Regions from separate parts of the Homo sapiens genome. Here region 1 is linked to region 2. The links are contacts of gene promoters, found by promoter capture Hi-C in human tissues and cell types (Jung and others, 2019). All regions are on one chromosome and are shown on one strand. Each heading gives the region's core, a stretch centred on a gene start or on the middle of the fragment in contact. The rest is flanking DNA. Distances are from core to core; before and after follow the strand shown.

Region 1 (4,023 bases), core at 1,352-3,851, 170 kb before region 2:
TGATATTAAATTCCATGGGATGACGGACCATGCCCGTCTTGTTCACAGCTTCATCCCCTCTATCCCTCAGAGGGCTTAGTAAATGTTTATTGAATAAATGGATGATTGATTGAATGGATGAATAAATGAATAAGAGTTTGAGCAGCACAGGACTCCATGGTATTGGAATGCAAGAAAGGAGGCTGGAGCCACAGAAAGGAAGAGACATGAAGGACCCTGAATGGCAGACAGATGAGTCTGGAATTGGGTCTGGGCCACAGGAGCCATAGGGCTTTCTAGAGCAGAGGAGGGCAGAGCTCAGATAAGGATGTTAGACAGATATAGCAGCTGGCTGCCACGGAGGAAGACCAGAGGTGGGGTCCTTCCCCGCCCAGCAACCAGGCAAGGCTGGCACCCACCCCCTCTCACTCAGCCCTATTAGCATTCTGCATGTGGCTGGGCTCCACAATTAACACAAAGGTACAGTCATTCATTCTGACTGGTAGACTCGGGGGATCGGCGGATCGGGGGCTGGCTGCGCAGGGTTTCTGCTGGGAAGGCATGTCACAGCACAGCGGCCACTGAAATGAAAAGCTATTAATAATGATCCTGGAACTTCACTCCCATCAGCTGTTTGTTTAAAGGTGTTCCATACTTGGAGCTGCCTGATTTATGTGGGCAATAACGCGCCCTGGTCGGTCCGCACTTTTTAAAGCAGCGCTAATGGGGTGAGACTGAGACCCCGGGGGATGCTGGGGAATAAGGCTTGAGGGCCAGGCGTGGTCAGATTTGGACCTCGACTCCCTGCCCAGCATCAGAGTGGGAGAGCTGAAAGAGCCAGGCAGCTGGGTTCAAATCCAGCTTGAGCATGTCCCTTTCCCTCTCTGAGCCCCCGTTTCCTCATCTTCTCTTTGAGTAAGAGAACACCTGCCTTCCAGGGTTGACAGGAAGATCCCATGAAAAGCATACAGTAAGTGCTCCATAATGTCTTAGTTTTCTCCCCTTTCTCTTTTCCTTGTAGAAAAACTCTCCCCACCACCTGCCAGCCCTCTCCAGGAAGGAGAAGCATTCAATCCACTTAAATGTTTATCGAGAATCTACAATTGTATTTGACATTTAAATTCCTGAAGGCCTGACAAAAATGCTGGGACAGACAGCCTGTCGTGCCCATTTTAGAGATTAGGAAACTAAGGCTCAGAGGAGGAAGAGACATGCCTAAGGTCACCCAGCTCAAAATCCACTACATGGGAGTCCCAAACGGGCAGAGATTGTATATATTTTAATCCACCACTGAGTACCCAGCACCTTGTCCAATGCCTGGTATGTCACAGGAGCACAATGTATATGTGTCAAATTGAAAACAAAAGGTGTCTGAACCCTGAATCTTGCCTCAGAGGTCCAATTCCCTTTCCATCATTTAATCTCAGTGGTAGAAACAGTCAGGAGACCTGGATTCTATCCCCAACTCTGAGGTAAGTTGCTTAAAGGGAACGTTGGATCAGATGACCGCAGGGCAGTTTCTTAACATCAGCACTACTGATATCTTAGGTTTGATAATTATTTTGTGTATGGGTGTTTGGGGGGAAGGTGTCCTGGGCACTTTGGAATGTTTAGCAACATTCCTGCCCTCCACCCACTAGATGCCAGTAGCAGCCTCTCAGTTGTGACAAGCGAAGATGTCTCCAGACGTTGCAAATGTCCCAAGGGTCGCAAGGTCCCCCCTGGTTGAGAAGCACTGCACTAGGGGCTTTCTCCAAACACACAAATTCTGCACAGCAGAGGTCTACATTGTGGTGGGGGAGTGGGGGAGACTTGGCCTGTGACCCAGGAAAAATGTCATGTTGACATTTTCACAAAGTCTCGTTTTCCCATTTGGCCTGTTCGAGAACAATTCTCCTTTGGCAGAGCCAATCACCAGGCAGTTCTGCTAACAATGCTGCAACCTGGTCCACAGACCGGATGGTCACGGCACATGCAAAGGCAAGCTTCCCAGAATGCAGCTAAACATGGGAACCAATGAGTCCCCACCAGGTACAGGGGCGAAAGAGAAGTCTGGGGCTGTTGGGGATGAATGAAGACCAGGAGTGATCAGCACTGGGTACAGTGGTCAGGTTGGGGGTCGGGGGAAAGCCTGAGCAGAGATGGAGAGGCAGGAATGAGTGCTGATGAGGAGTGAGGGAAAAATGATCTGTGCCCATCCCAGAAGGACAAACACCTTTCAGACTTTCCCTCCCATTTTCCCACCTAGTAAAGCTGCACTATCTCGGCAGGAGACAGTTTCTCCTGGCTCCAAGTCATCCCCTCCATGCCTCCTTCCCACTGGGACTCCTTACACAGAGGCGGCCTGGAGGGACAGAAATGGCGTGCTTTGGTGTCAGACACCATGGGTTCCAGTTTCAGATGGGAATCTACAGCCCTGTGGCCTTGGCTCACATGACAAAGAGAAATATTAAAAATACTGAGCCACTGGACCAGCATACTCACTGATCAATCAGAACAGGTGACAGTTGAAAACAACTGACAGGGCTAGCTGAACATCGGCCCCACCTCTGAGTCTGCACCTCCACCTCTGTACATCTACCTCCTGGGGCTGTCAGGTGAAATGGAGAGAAAGCAGCCAGCACAGCAGCTTGCATACAGCAGGGATTCAATAAATGTTCCTTGGCTTCCCCCAAAGATCCCAGAAGGTGTTGAGGTCTGAATTTTCTGCAGTGGGTCCCTGCAAAGACATCATTCTTTCCAGATGTTGAGGAAAGTTGTGAACCGCTTCTTCCAGCCAGGGCTTAGGAGCAGGGAGGCTGAGAACGATGGTCTGGGTGCAAAGACGAACTGCAATCAGGGTTCACTGATCACCTTTGTCCCCCTGGTGGTCTTTGTCCTGCCCAGGGACTCTGGCACACCTTCCTGTCATGCACTCCAGGAAGATCTGGGTCTGTGCGTCAGACCCGGGCCAGCCAGCCCCCTCTCGGTGTGTATAGGCAGCTTGTCACTACAAAATCCATTTTCTTATCTCCTGCCATATCTATTTTTCTAATTCTTACTTAACGAGCTCCCCTGAAAATAAGAAAATCATTGGAACAATTTCCTTAAGTGTGAAAGATTAGTCTGAAGTCGGCATTAAGGGGACTAATTACCTTCATTCTCCCACCTTTCCGACAGCCGTTTGTTAGCTGTGAGGACTCATTCATCTGCTGCTCAGGGAAGTCAGGCAACATTTGGCTGTGGTGGGATCCTCCGCTCCTGCTTTGGCTCACGGGGTGTGTGTATGCGTGTGGTGTGTGTGCATATGTGTGTGTGTGAGACAGAAACAGAGAAATGGATTGGGGAGCAGAAAAGTGCAGAAAGGCCCGGGACTCCATGTGAAGCTGCTCTCTGGGACTCTTTGGTGATGGCGGTGGGGGTGGGGAGGGTAGACATCCAACTCAGAATCAGGGGTGGGTGGATACCTGGGGAGGTGCTGGCATGAGCCAGACACACATGGTCTGCCAAGCTCCTAGAGGTCTGGATTCCCTGCCGCTGACTCACTGAATGACTATGGGGAAGTCTCTGTGACTGCAGGCCTCAGTTTTCTCATCTGTAAAATGAGGGTCATTTCTTGTAACTACGGTAATGACAGCAATATCCAGCTTCCATGGAGGGCAGGCATCGCATAGTGATTCCACCCCCTCTTCATCCTCACCATAGCCCCGGGGGCAGTTCCTATCATTACTGCAGTGTACGGATGGGAAAGTGGAAGACCAGAGATGTTAGGGAACGTGTCCCAGGTCACGCAGCTGGAATCGGAATCTGAGTCTGTGTAATTCTGGAGCTCATGTCCTGTCCACTCTACTCAGACTCCAGACCTCCCCCTGCTCCCAGAATGCATTCCCAGTGCACTTGGAGGCTGAAGACATAGGTTCCAACCCCAACTCGAGCTTGCACCACTTGTGTGACCAGAGGTACATCCAGGCATCTCCTCTGTAAAATGGAGACAGTTATGCTTCTTGCCATAACTGGATGTGGGGGGCACCCCATGCCGTACTGCATGCTGTAAACAAAAATGAA
Region 2 (4,443 bases), core at 449-2,948:
ATCCTGTGAACGTGGAGCTCCCACACTCCCAAAGATAGGAAAGTCCTTGATACCATCTTCAAACACATGAGAAATAAAACGCTCCCCTAAAAGTCTGTCAATCTCCAGTTCTCACTCCCCATAGTTCTGGTCCTTCTGCCACAAAACAGCTCAGGACCAGAGCTTGGAGACTCTCACTATCTGAGAGGCAGGCTCGGGAATCATGCAGATGTAGATTCACAACCAGGTTCTTCCATTAGCTAGCTATGAGACCTTTGGCAAGACAATCCCCCTTTCTGAGCCTCAATTTGCCCATCTGTATAATGGGGGAGTTGTGAGAAATCAGACAAAGAAAACAGGCAGTGTTTGGCTCAGAGCCTGACACACAAGAAGCCCTCAATAGATAGCTTCTGACATTGTTGTCACAGCCCAGCCTCTACCTGGAGCCAAAGTTGGGAGTTATGAGGGCAAACTCTGCTCTTGAGAAGCCTGGATCACACCCTTCACCCCACCTCCTCTGGCTCTTTCTCCACTCCTACCACAAGGGCCCCCCTTTACCTCTTTCCAGCTCCGCCCTCCCCCTGCCTCCCTGTTCCCTAAGAGCCATTGCTTCAGGTGAAAGTGAAAGCTGTGGGACCAAAGCAGCCTCCCCACTCCCTCTCTTCCCTTGCTGCTTCCCTTGCTTTCCTTGATACCATGGGTCATTCCTGCCCAGGCTTCAGGCAGGAATCTACAGCCCTCTAAAGTAGGGGGAGGCCAGAGGGGCTGGGATGAAGGAGCCAGGTACTTGGGGGATTCCCAGCCTCCAGAATGAGGAACTACAAAAATACATTTAAACAAAAAGTGAGTCAAGTGTAGGCTTCTGAAAATCCCGGAGATATGCTTGGTTGGCTCTGAGCCCCTCTGGTGCCTGGAGAAACCCCTGGTTTCTCCAGCCCTCTGATCACCAGCCCTGTCAGAGCCAACCAGAACTCTGGTCTCCTAACCCTTTATTGTGTCCCATAAACTGTTCATCTCCCCAGGGGTCTCCTATGTCATCTTAAATTCAGGAGAAAAAGGCAAAGCCCTGGGGATTCCTCCTAGGTTGGAACACCCAAGATACGGTTCGGGGTGGAAGGCGATGTTAAAAGCTCCTTGCCTTCTCACAAAAGTACCTGGGCCTCTGCACCCATCTCTTGTTCCCACAAGATGCCCTGGAAGAAGGCAGCCCCAGCTGGCAAGGAGATGATAACTACTTACAGAGGCTGGCATCTGTCCACAATAAGAAGGGGACAGGAAACGGGCCAGACCCGCCCCTTCCCTTGGTCCGCCTCACTTCCCGCCCTCTGAACCCCCTACCAGTCTCTGTGTGGCCAGCCTCTGAGGCTCCCTAAACCCGTCCAGGCCGTCTAGGCACGCTTGGGCAGCCAGTGCCTTCCCTGAGCGGCCCCTGTAGGCCGCTCCCGGGACCCCAGCCCGGGAGAAGAGAGAGGCAGCCCACCCCATTCAGCCAGGAGCGGGGGCACCTTGCCCAGCTCCCACCCACCCTCCTGCCCCCACAAAAATCAGCCAGGAAGGCCTCTTCCCCGAAGTCTTCCTTCCCTTTCCTTCTCATTCCCCACTCCCAACTCCCGTCTGGTCGGGGCAAAAACAACTCACAGCGGTCAGCAAGCAGCCCCAGAGGACGCACTGCAGAGGCAGACGAACCATAGCGAGGTGAGACCAGGCGGCAGGACCACTGGGCGCCCGAGCGAGGCCTCTGCTGACTCCCCTGCCCCAGCCTTGGCCCCGCCCAGGAAAGGGGCGGGGTCTTCAAAGACCAATCGCGGTCCACCTATCGGGGGGGCGGAGCCCCCAGCAATTCACCGCGCAGGAGTTTCCCCAGAACATTCCCACAAGTCTAATTCCCCCGGGAGTTTAGGGACGCATCTTGCTGTGTACGGGAGGAGGCATGGTCCCAGAGACAGCTCTTCTTCTTTGCCCCCAGGTCCCACAAAGGCCAAGCCGAGGCGGGCTAGGAGCTAGCCTGCTTCCTGCGACCGGAGAGAGATCCCATGGGTGCTGGGGCCTGCCACAGGGACCCTCACGGTTTTCCCCTCCCTGCCCCGCTCTCCGCTGCCTCTAGGTATCCTGGCAGAACCGAAAGAGGCTCCACTGCGGAGAGGCCTGAGGAAGTTCCCCCCACACCACCACGCAGAAAACGGGAAGGCCACAGCTGGGGTATGGGGAGGCGTTTCAAGGAAGAGTTTCCCAACTCAGAATTTCGCTCTCTTTCAAAGGAAATTCCCTCGTGTGGGCGCGTCGTCTCAACTTCCCATCCATTCATCCATGCATCCATGCGTCCTCACCTCATTCCATTCCATCCCACCTCCCACCCAGCACCTGGAGACAGGCATTTATTAAGAGTGGGGCCGGGCGCGGTGGCTCACGCCTGTAATCCAGCACTTTAGGAGGCCGAGGCGGGCAGATCACTTGAGGTCAGGAGTTCGAGACCAACCTGGCCAACATAGTGAAACTCCGTCTCTACTAAAAATACAAAAATTAACCGGATGTAGTGGCGTTCGCCTGTAATCCCAGCTACTCGGGAGGCTGAGGCAGGAGAATCGCTTGAACCGCAGAGGCAGAGATTGCAATGAGCCGAGATCGTGCCACTGCACTCCAGCCTCGAAGGCAGAGCAAGACTCAGTCTCAAAAAAAAAAAAAATAAATAATAAATAAAAATAAAAATAAAGGTGGGGGCCAGGCGCGGTGGCTTACGCCTGTAATCTAACACTTTGGAAGGCCAAAAAGGGAGATTGCTTGAGGCCAGGAGTTCAAGACCAGCCTGGCAACATGGCAAGACCCCCATCTCTACAAAATAAAGAAATTTTTAAGTTAGCCAGGCATGGTGGCAAACACCTGTAGTCCCAGCTACTCAGGAGGCTGAGGCAGGAGGATCGCTTGAGCTCAAGAAGTCAAGGTTGCAGTGAGCCATGATTGCAATGATTACATCACTGCACTTCAGCCTGGGCGACAGTGCAAAACTCCATCTCAAAAAAAAAAAAAGAGTGGGCCAGCCTTTTGTGGCATCATAAAACACTTTAAGTATGTTAGGAAACTCGGGACCCTCTCATTTTGCAGAAACACACACACTTGTGCCTACATTTCCTGGGTTCATGAACTCTGAAGACGTGCTTTTGTTTTTTTGTTTTTTGTTTCGTTTTGTTTTTTGGGTGTTTGTTTGGTTTTTGGTTTTTGGGTTTTTTTTGACAGAGTCTCATTCTGTTGCCCAGGCTGGAGTGCAGTGGCATGATCTCGGCTCACTGCAACCTCTGCCTCCTGGGTTCAAGCAATTCTCCTGCCTCAGCCTCCCGAGTAGCTGGGATTACAGGCTGGCGCCACCACGCCCAGCTAATTTTTGTATTTTTAGTAGAGACGGGGTTTCTCCACGTTGGCCAGGCTGGTCTCAAACTCCTGACCTCAGGTGATCCGCCTGCCTTGGCCTCCCAAAGTGCTGAGATTACAGGCATGAGCCACCGCACCTGGCCCTCAAGATGTTCTTGAACCAGTGTTAACACTCTGCTTTGCAGCATGGAACACCTGGGTTCTGGTGCAGCCTCTGCCTCTGAAGGACTGTGTTCCCTTAGGCCTAAATTTTTCTCCAAGGAAAACTTAGGAGCTTGAACTAGACAACGGTTGAGGTGATGACCCTCCAAGCTCTCAATTTCTGGAAGAGGACAAGAGGCCAGACCTCACAGATCAGGGAGGATGGAAGAGGAGGACACTTCTAACCCCATTCTCATGGCTTCTGCTGTTAAGGGCACATTTGCAAGTCTTGTGGATTCTGCCTCTAGGATCCATCCCTTATTTTCTGTCACCTCTGCCACTGCCCTAATTCAGAGGGTGCCATCTTTCATCTGGACTGTCCCAACAGCCTCTCTCATTCCACAGGATTTATTGAGCACCTACTATGTGCCAGGCAACTCTTTACACTGCTGCGATTCTCTTGATAAACTCCAGATCTGATCGACTGGGACACTTTCCTGCATAAAAGCCTCTTTGGGTTTCCCTGCACCCTCAGGATGATCCAAATTTCTTATCCTGGCAAAGCACACCCTTCCTCACTCAGCCCCAACCTCTCTTTCTATGCTTACTTCCTGCCACGTCCTCCCATGCACACTGGCTTCAGCCTCTCCCCACTTCCCAGGCACACAATCTTTTTTCCTTACGGTTTATCTCATTGCTCTTGATGTTTCCTTCCTTTCCTTCTCCTTTCTTAAACAGTTTAAATGTTGCCTCCTCTTACACCTTCCCCAACTCCCTGAGGCAGAGGTAGGTACTCTATCCCACCCTGCCTCCTCCCCTGTGTTGCCACAGCATTTAGCATGCCAGCTCATAACTCCTTCTGCCTGGTCCCATTTGACTGTGAGCTCCCTGAGGGCAGGACTGGATCTATCCCAGTCCTAGGTACATAATAGGACACCAATATATGGGTGCTGAATGAAT

What was found. The method cuts DNA at HindIII sites, captures the fragments that hold promoters and counts their contacts. A contact is called where the count stands out against the background at its distance.
Region 1: a contact is called between a fragment that was not itself captured here and the fragment with the promoter of CD40 in region 2, in 2 of the 25 tissues and cell types used here (liver and pancreas).

Annotation. Positions count from the first base shown.
Region 1 is chr20:46,283,072-46,287,094 of GRCh38, reverse strand. All of the region lies in intron 1 of CDH22 (cadherin 22), which reads left to right. Among named protein-coding and RNA genes, the nearest start is that of CDH22, 23 kb to the left of the region's middle. The HindIII fragment of the contact is 8,751 bases long and covers 1-4,023 here.
Region 2 is chr20:46,115,569-46,120,011 of GRCh38, reverse strand. It overlaps CD40 (CD40 molecule), which reads right to left and starts at 1,698. Exons shown (of 9, transcript NM_001250.6): 1 at 1,618-1,698. The coding sequence starts at 1,668. RefSeq lists enhancers at 476-825, 1,836-1,895, 1,661-2,477, a silencer at 1,700-1,919 and a cis regulatory region at 419-2,516. The HindIII fragment of the contact is 12,179 bases long and covers 1-4,443 here.